Linked DNA regions of Homo sapiens: regions 2 and 3 are each linked to region 1. The links are contacts of gene promoters, found by promoter capture Hi-C in blood cells and fetal thymus (Javierre and others, 2016). All regions are on one chromosome and are shown on one strand. The core of a region is centred on a gene start or on the middle of the fragment in contact, and the rest is flanking DNA. Distances in the headings are between cores, read along the strand shown.

The links. The method cuts DNA at HindIII sites, captures the fragments that hold promoters and counts their contacts. A CHiCAGO score of 5 or more calls a contact.
Region 2: a contact is called between a fragment that was not itself captured here and the fragment with the promoter of PRR18 in region 1, in 1 of 17 cell types (non-activated CD4 T cells). The highest score is 5.3, in non-activated CD4 T cells.
Region 3: a fragment that was not itself captured here is called in contact with the fragment with the promoter of PRR18 in region 1 in 1 of 17 cell types (total CD8 T cells); the score reaches 5.1 in total CD8 T cells.

The regions. Positions count from the first base shown.
Region 1 is chr6:166,307,120-166,309,659 of GRCh38, reverse strand. PRR18 (proline rich 18) reads left to right here and starts at 1,268. Exons shown (of 1, transcript NM_175922.4): 1 at 1,268-2,540. The coding sequence starts at 1,518. The coding sequence ends at 2,405. It overlaps LOC107986669 (a long non-coding RNA gene), which reads right to left and starts at 2,112. Exons shown (of 3, transcript XR_001744464.2): 1 at 1,937-2,112. RefSeq lists an enhancer at 836-1,115 and a silencer at 1,186-1,785. The HindIII fragment of the contact is 8,012 bases long and covers 1-2,540 here.
Region 2 is chr6:166,643,703-166,646,242 of GRCh38, reverse strand. It overlaps LOC107986671 (a long non-coding RNA gene), which reads right to left. Exons shown (of 3, transcript XR_001744466.2): 2 at 1-41. It also overlaps a transcript of RPS6KA2 not described here. Among named protein-coding and RNA genes, the nearest start is that of RPS6KA2, 18 kb to the right of the region's middle. The HindIII fragment of the contact is 2,883 bases long and covers 1-2,540 here.
Region 3 is chr6:166,619,236-166,621,775 of GRCh38, reverse strand. The region is part of intron 1 of RPS6KA2 (ribosomal protein S6 kinase A2); the gene reads left to right. Among named protein-coding and RNA genes, the nearest start is that of RPS6KA2, 6.7 kb to the left of the region's middle. RefSeq lists enhancers at 329-829, 2,490-2,540. The HindIII fragment of the contact is 3,633 bases long and covers 1-2,540 here.

The sequences.
Region 1 (2,540 bases), core at 19-2,518:
TAACAGCCTGAGCCCACCGGCAGAGACAGGCTGGCAGGGATGGAGGGAAAGTGCCTGTGAGCTGGGAGGCTTGTTTCAGAGCTGTATTGGGGTGGCTTGGGAGGTGCTGGTAGAGATGACAGGGCCCAAACCTGTCACCCCAACCCAAGCTCTGGTGAGAAGTGTTTCCCACCACCTGCCAGGTTTCCTTGACGCTCCCATGTATCCACAGCGCAGTTCTCTGAGGCCACCAACAGTCAACAAGGGGAGGCGTTGCTGCTGCCTCGGAGACTGAGGCGGCTGGGGGAGGGCCATGCTGTCCTGCTGTGACTGTTGGCACAGGGCACATTTGTGTTTACCCACAGTTGAATGTGCTCTGGAGCTAACCTGGGGCCGTAACCATCACACACCTGGTTTCCATCAGAAAAGTGTATCTGATGGAAAGTACTTTGTGGAGATCTAAGCAGCTGATGATTATCCTTAAGTAATGCAGGGACTGCACACATGAAATGTTGACTTTTTGATCCGTCACTTTGCAATTGTTCAATTATTTATTAAACAAACATTTGAATATTGTAGGATGTCTTCATGTGTCTACGACTAGAATGTAAATTGACAGTGAAGATTTATCTCATTAATTCTGAATCTCTGCTACAGTGATAAATATATTGCTTTGCTCATAAGAATTATTAAAGGGACTTGATGTCTAATATTTGCCATGTAATCAGCATTATATAGCTGAAACTGAACTATTTTGCCTGTTCATAGATACTTAGGTTTTGAATTTGAAAGTGACTCCTCAAGGGGTGGCATGAACACTATGTAAGATTCACTGAGGGTCATTTCTCCCCTCTCAGCTCCAGCCCGCTTTTCTCTGTGAAGCAGGATGTGTCCGGGGCCGCAGAGCTGCATCTACTGGCGGTGCCTTTCCCGCCGTCTCGAAGGCACGGAGAGGCTACAGGGGATTTTCTCTGAAACGTGCAGGGCCTCCACCTGTGACTCCGGAAGGCTGCCGGCTCCCCCAGGGGAATGCTCCTGGCTTTCGACGGACTACATTAACCTCGGACCACCGGAGCGCCAGCTGGGGGAGCCCCGGGATGCCTGGCGCGCGCTCCGCCCTCCGCTGTCCTGGCACTTTGCTCCCATTCAACAGTCGGTCGTGACACCAGCCGGGCACAGCCCGGGGCCTGGCAGGGCCGCGTCCTTAGCGAGCGCGCTGGGCTCCTCCTCCTGCCGGCCCGGCCCGCGTCTCAGCTGTGGGGACCCGGGGGCGCCGCGACTCGCCCACAGTCGGACGGCGGGAGGCGGTTCCTGCAGGGTCCAGTCCCGGGAGCACCCCCAGGAGGAGGGGAGGGTGGGAGCGCCTCTCTTTGAGTCCCCGGGTTTGGTCGCTGGGATGTGAGGAAGCCGGAGAGGCCGCGGCTGGACGCAGGTGGGTGTGGAGGGGCCGCCCGGACTGCGGGGACCCGCTCCGCGCACAGTGGCTGAGCGCCCGCCTCTCTTTCCAGGGGCTGAGGATCCGGCGGCTCGGCTGCACTATGCCCTTCCCGCCCATGCCGCCGCCGCCCGCCCCCGCCCCGGGGGCCCAAGCCGCGCGCCAGTTACCCCGGAGGCCCTGCGCCGCGGGGGACAAGAAGAAGAGGCCCCCACAGCGGCCCGAGGGGCTCCTCTCCAGCTCCTGGCCCTCCGCCACGCTCAAGAGGCCGCCGGCCCGGCGCGGCCCCGGCCTGGACAGGACGCAGCCGCCGGCCCCTCCGGGCGTCTCCCCCCAGGCCTTGCCCAGCCGCGCGCGGGCCCCAGCCACGTGCGCCCCGCCCCGGCCGGCAGGCTCCGGCCACAGCCCAGCGAGGACCACCTATGCGGCGACCTCGGCGGGGACGGGGACCACCGCCGCGGGCACCTCCTCGGGGGCGGGGCCTTGTCCAGACTCCGCTGCGCGCTTCTGCCTGAATCTCACCCCCGAGGCCGTCCTGGTCATCCAGAAGCGTCATCTGGAGAAGCAGCTGCTGGCGCGGCCCCGCAGGCCCTTCCCCTCACCCTCGGCCGAACCCAGGCGCCTACTCGCCCCGTGTCTCCCGGCTAGGGCCGCGGGCCCGCGGAGGGGCGGCCCCGCCAGCGACCCCGACGCACCCCCCACCGCCGGCCAGGGCCGCCGCGCGCCTCCGCCCGGCGCCCAGCTGCTGCACGGCGGCCTGCAGGTTCCCCAGCTCAGCCCGCGGCCCGGGGCCCTGCGGCCGATGCTCAAGGTGTCGCTGCTCAACGAGCGGCACAGGTACGACGACGTGGAGTACGAGGAGGAGCCAGAGGCGGTGGACGAGGGCCTGGTACGCAAGTGCACGGAGTGGCTGCGCGGCGTGGAGTCCGCGGCTGCCGCGCGGGGCCGGGCGGGGGCCCTGGACTCACGGCGGCACCTGAGCACGCTGTGAGCCCAGCGGGCCTGCGGGGACAGGCCAGGCCTGATCCCACCTCACTTCCTGCACGCGCCACTCCGCCTAGGGGCCCTCGGGGGAGACCGCAGGCTCCTCTGGCCGCCAGCGCCCACTTTCGGGACACCAGTGCGC
Region 2 (2,540 bases), core at 30-2,529, 340 kb before region 1:
CCATGTGGAACCGATCAAGAGATTCCACGTGATCTGAGAGACTGAAATAGATGCCCTCTGATCAACTGAGATGGGCACTAAGTTTAAGGAAACCAAGCCACCCCTGGGTCATGGGTTCAGTGCTCAGGGACCATGGCAAATTTCCCAATTCCTACAGCTAAATTCCCTAACAATAGGAGCTATCAACTCTGATTTACAACCTCACCACTACAACTCTAATTGCACAGAGGACTGGCCCTAGAAGCAAACGTTTTGTTCTAACGAGCACTTGCAGACTCCAGGCCCGCTTTGGCAGCTTTGAGGGGCACGCACAGATTGTCTTTGCATCCTTTAGTTCACCTTCTGACAAGTTTCTCCAGACTTGGCCAAATATCCATTGGGAGGCAAAATAATCTGTGGTTAAGTTGAAATGTTGACACATGTAAACCACACTTTGAGTTTGCAAAACTATGGCAAAGTTAATGCTACTGTTTAATTCATACCTTTACTTATTTAGAGCTAAAAATGAATTCTTATGTGCCAAGAACTCTGTGGGTACAACATGGACTATGATGAGCTGGGGCCAGGCTTCCTGGAGTGCCCCCATCTCCAGGTAGATCCAGAGAAGGGGGGGCACATTCCCGTGAGCATGGCAGGGCTGCTCCAGGAGGTCCTGTAACCCAGCCTAGGAACCAGGGCAGACCTCCCAGGAGTGGAGTCTTAGCCAAGGCCTAGGAGAGGGACAGAGGTGAGCAGGTTGAAGAGAGAGGAGGGGAGGTGGAGAGTTTGTGACTGGCAGAAGGAACAGGGTGTACCAGTGCTTAGGGGAAATATATAGAAAGCGGCTAAACGGAAACTCCAGCCCAAGTGTTCTGATCCCATTCTCAGTGTTCTTTTACTTAAACAGCTTCCCCCACACGACTGGTAATTCAAAAACTAACGTTGTGCCTCTGATTCCAGCTCCATAATTTATCTTATTGGCAGCCTGGTCACCCTTTGCCATTCTTCATATTGAAAGGTGAATACTTGTAGATGCTATTATGCATCTTGTTACATTTTCAAGTCTTTATCAAATAGGAAACTTTAATAGCTAGCTTTAAAGGATGCGTAAGTAGTTTCGTTCATTTTCTAGGTCTGCCATAAGACAGCATTACAAATTGGACAGTTTAAAATAATAGGAACTTGTCCTCCCACAGTTTTGGAGACCAGAACTCCAAAATCAGGGGTGGGCAGTGCCTCACTCCCTCTAAAGGCTGTAGGGAAGAATCTGATTCATGCCTCTTTCCAGCTTCTGGTGTTGCCAGCAATCCTTGGTGTTCCCTAGTTTGGAGATGCCCCGCTCCAATCTCTGTTTCCTCCTTCACCAGGCATTCCTCTGTGTGTATGTGTCTCTCCTTATAAGGACACCAGTCATATTGGATTTAGAGCCACCCTAATCCAATTATGACCTCATGTTAACTTGATTTCATTTGCAAAGACCCTATTTCCAAGTGAGGTCATGTTCACAGGTACTAGGGGTTAGGACTTCAAGGTGGCTTTTTGCAGGATGCAAGTAAGCCACAGCACTCATTATGTTAATGCTACATGGACACCACAAACCCCTAGGCTGTAATTTCTCTCTTTACTTTTTAATATGTATGGGCCCTTATTTAAAATACGTCTAAGCCAAAACACATTTGCAATATACTTTCACGCAACTTAAGTCAGATCCTTCCCTGAGAATACCGGGAGGTTTAGCTAAAGCAGTTGCTCCTGGAAAATGATGATAGGATTGGAGCCTCAAACTTCCTAAAAGTCACCAGAATCTCCAGCCAGTTGTTCCCGGAAGGACATGTAATCACAAGAATAACTGGAAGAAGTGACGTCATGGACTGGGGGAGCAGGCACAGTAAATGGGACGCACATTGATTTGAAGAAATGTGGGCTTTTCCCTGTGTTGAACTTCAGGATGTACCATTGTGAATATAACATCTGTGCCCTACTAGATAATTCCCTTTCTTTTCGTTTTTGAATAGTACATGTTGTATGCCCTTAGCAAATCTAAAAATAGTATGTAGAGTTACTGACTTATTGCCTCAGTTGCCCAAGGTTATGTGCTAATTACTGGCTTAAAAAGAGGAAAAGGGAAGGAGAGGAGAAGAGAGAGAGGGAACCAATTGTCACAAGTTAATCCTCATTCTGCACTTCCATCCTGTGGCACAAAGTGCATGTCAAAAAAGCAGTAGTGGCCATCTGGCTGCCAGTTCAGTGACTGCTTTCACTCGTCTATCCATTCAGCAAATATTTGTTCTAAGTAGATCAGCCATCAGTAACAGGCACTGTGTATAGTGATTTGCCAAGGAGACACAATTCCTGCCCTCACAGGGTTTACAGTCTAATAAAAGCATTAATTAAATGCTCACACACATACACCTAAGTAAGTATTCCCATCTAAGAAATTCCTAGTATCTTAAGAGCATCTGCCAGGGCACCTGACTAAGTCTGGGGGTCACAGAGAGCATCCTTGAAGGACTGACAGCGGAGGTCAGAACTTTAGGAGGATTCAGTATTAATCTTGGTAA
Region 3 (2,540 bases), core at 13-2,512, 310 kb before region 1:
GAGAGTGCTCCTTTGATATGGGGGACCAGGATGAGTTTACTTTGTATGACGTGGAGTTGGTAACCAGTAACTTAGCCAGAAATACTCTACCTTTTTTGCTCCAAGGATCTGTGCTTATTAAATAAGCAGAGCTGGTCTAAGACTAGCAGCATTCTCTAGAATGCTCTGCTTTTATTTCTGATTACACTGAATTAGGTTGTGTTGCATTTTCTCAGCGTTTTATGTTTGCTGATATATTTTCACTAGTAAAAGCTATTACATTGAATTCAAATAAGTAAAAATTATCAACAAATAGGCTGTTAAGCTACAGTGTGATTTAATCAAGCAAATGGATCAGACACAAATATATTCCATATGAAATACTGTTAATCACATCTGACTTGCAGCTGCGTGAGAAGCCTTGCCTGCTAACTGCTTAGCTAGGGGAAAATAATGGTGCAGCTACAAGGAAGCCGGAGGCACCTGCATATCAGGGCGTGGAGGACAAATGTGCGTAACCATACACCTAGGATTTATTACCAAGCAGGCCAGAAGCAGTGTTTCCGACCAGCCAAGATGTGTACCTGTTGTTATGCAGTCATTTGCATATGTTATGCAGTCATTTGCATGCGTTCCTGGAGATCAGTCAGAGGGTGTTCCCAAGAATGCTACTGATATGAGAGCCCTACCTGATTCCATTCGGCGAATGCTCCCTAGCCAGTCTTCCTCTATGAGCCTTGGTGTGCAAAGCTCCCCAGGCTGGGTGGTTTGCCCTTGCCTTGCCCCGTGGAGGTAGGATTCTGCAGGCATGGAGCAGGTGGTGTCCCTGTTTCCCTCCTGCCCCTGCTCGGTGCCAGTCTCCTGCCGTGGGAAGTGCCTGACCTTGCCGGCTGCCCCTTCTCCCAGCCACCTCACACTGCCCTAGTGTTCTTGCTGTCTCCCTTGCCAAACCACTGAATCCTTCTGAGCACCTGTCTCCCCAGCTACAAAATAGGGGTAACCCTGTAATAAGGGTTATCTGCAATTTATTAAATGCTTCATCAGTGAAATGTGCCTTGTCAGGACAGCTTGCACTTGGCATCCGTGGTGTTGCACAAAGCTGACTTTGGTGAGACCATATCTGTAAAGGTTCTTGCACTACATTATGGGGGAAAAATGTTTTTTCTCTCCTGCCAGCCTCTTTCCTTGCCCCTTTGAATACACATCTGTTTCTAATTAGTATTATCACCATGAAACTAGCTTTTCCTAGGTTATAGCTATGTTAAGTTTATATACAATGATGGTTTAATCTTTGATGCTGTCATTTTAAACATAATTCGTGGTAATAGCCCCTCTTGGAAAACAGACTTGTTTTCCACGCTGTTTCTGGCATCAGCCCACAAGGAATGGCTGAGTGGGGACTGTTGGGAGAAAGGAGAAGGCACTGGTAGAAATTATCTAGCCTTTTAGAGAAAAGAATTGTTTCTTCTTTCAGTTATTCTGTCTTCTGTATGAAATTAGCAAGATTTTTAAAAAATGAATCAAAGATTAGTACTTAGGTATTGGCCAGTGTATTTCCTCCTGTTGCCAAAGAAAAGAAAGGCTTGAATGAGATTGACAAATAAGAAAAACAGGCCTCATACCTGTGGAATGATTCGTATGCTGTAGTTTCACAATCTGAATTTTCAGATGGACATTAGCCAGAATGCAAGCCTGGGGCCTGCTGTGGAGAGCAGTCTCTGCACTCGAAGTGCACGGTAACATTCTTTGCACCAAGACATCTTGGCCACACATCCTGCCAAGGGCCTGTGGGCTTGCAGCTTTTACTCATTAAACTGTGAGGCCAAATTTATAACAGGAGGAGTGGGGGGATTTTACTTTGAATGACTTTGTTTTGGAATGGTTATGGTAGAAATGCCCTAGCGACTACTTAAGAAGCTCGCACAGGTCCCAATTTTAATGCTCTCAGCCCAGGATAATTGCAACTAGTTCTCTAGAACTAAGGTCAGATATCATATTAGCTTCCAAATAGTTTTACATCCATAATATCATGTGGACAATCTTTCTGAGGGTGAAAAACCAAGGAAGCCTCTTGTTCTGAACTGTGGGTAAAACACAAGAGGAGCAGAGAAGATGGCTTTGAGAGGACTCTGTGTGAGAAAAGCTGGGAGCCGGGCAAGGCTGGGAGGAGGCAGGAAGCCCAGGGGGCTCTGCAGGCCCTCCACGAGCCTTAAGACTTCAGGCCACATGGCCGTCAGCTCCTGCAGGCACCTGGGGCCCTGGGCTCTCTGTCACAGGGTCAAGCCCTGGAGAGACTGCTGCGTTCTACACTATGCTTGCAAAGGTGCTACGAGAAGCCCTCTTGCCTGTAACTTGTTAAAGCAACTCTGTTGATTGGTTGACTTTGAACATAGCGAAGGAAAGAAACACAGACAAACAAAACAACTTTCAAAAGAGCATTTATTTTTAGAACACCTTTGACTTCTTGAATTCTTCTTGGTTTCTCATCACTTCAGGGACTGAACAGACGGGCTGCGGGAATCAAAGTGGTGACTATAGCTGACTGCCTTCATTCCAGAGAA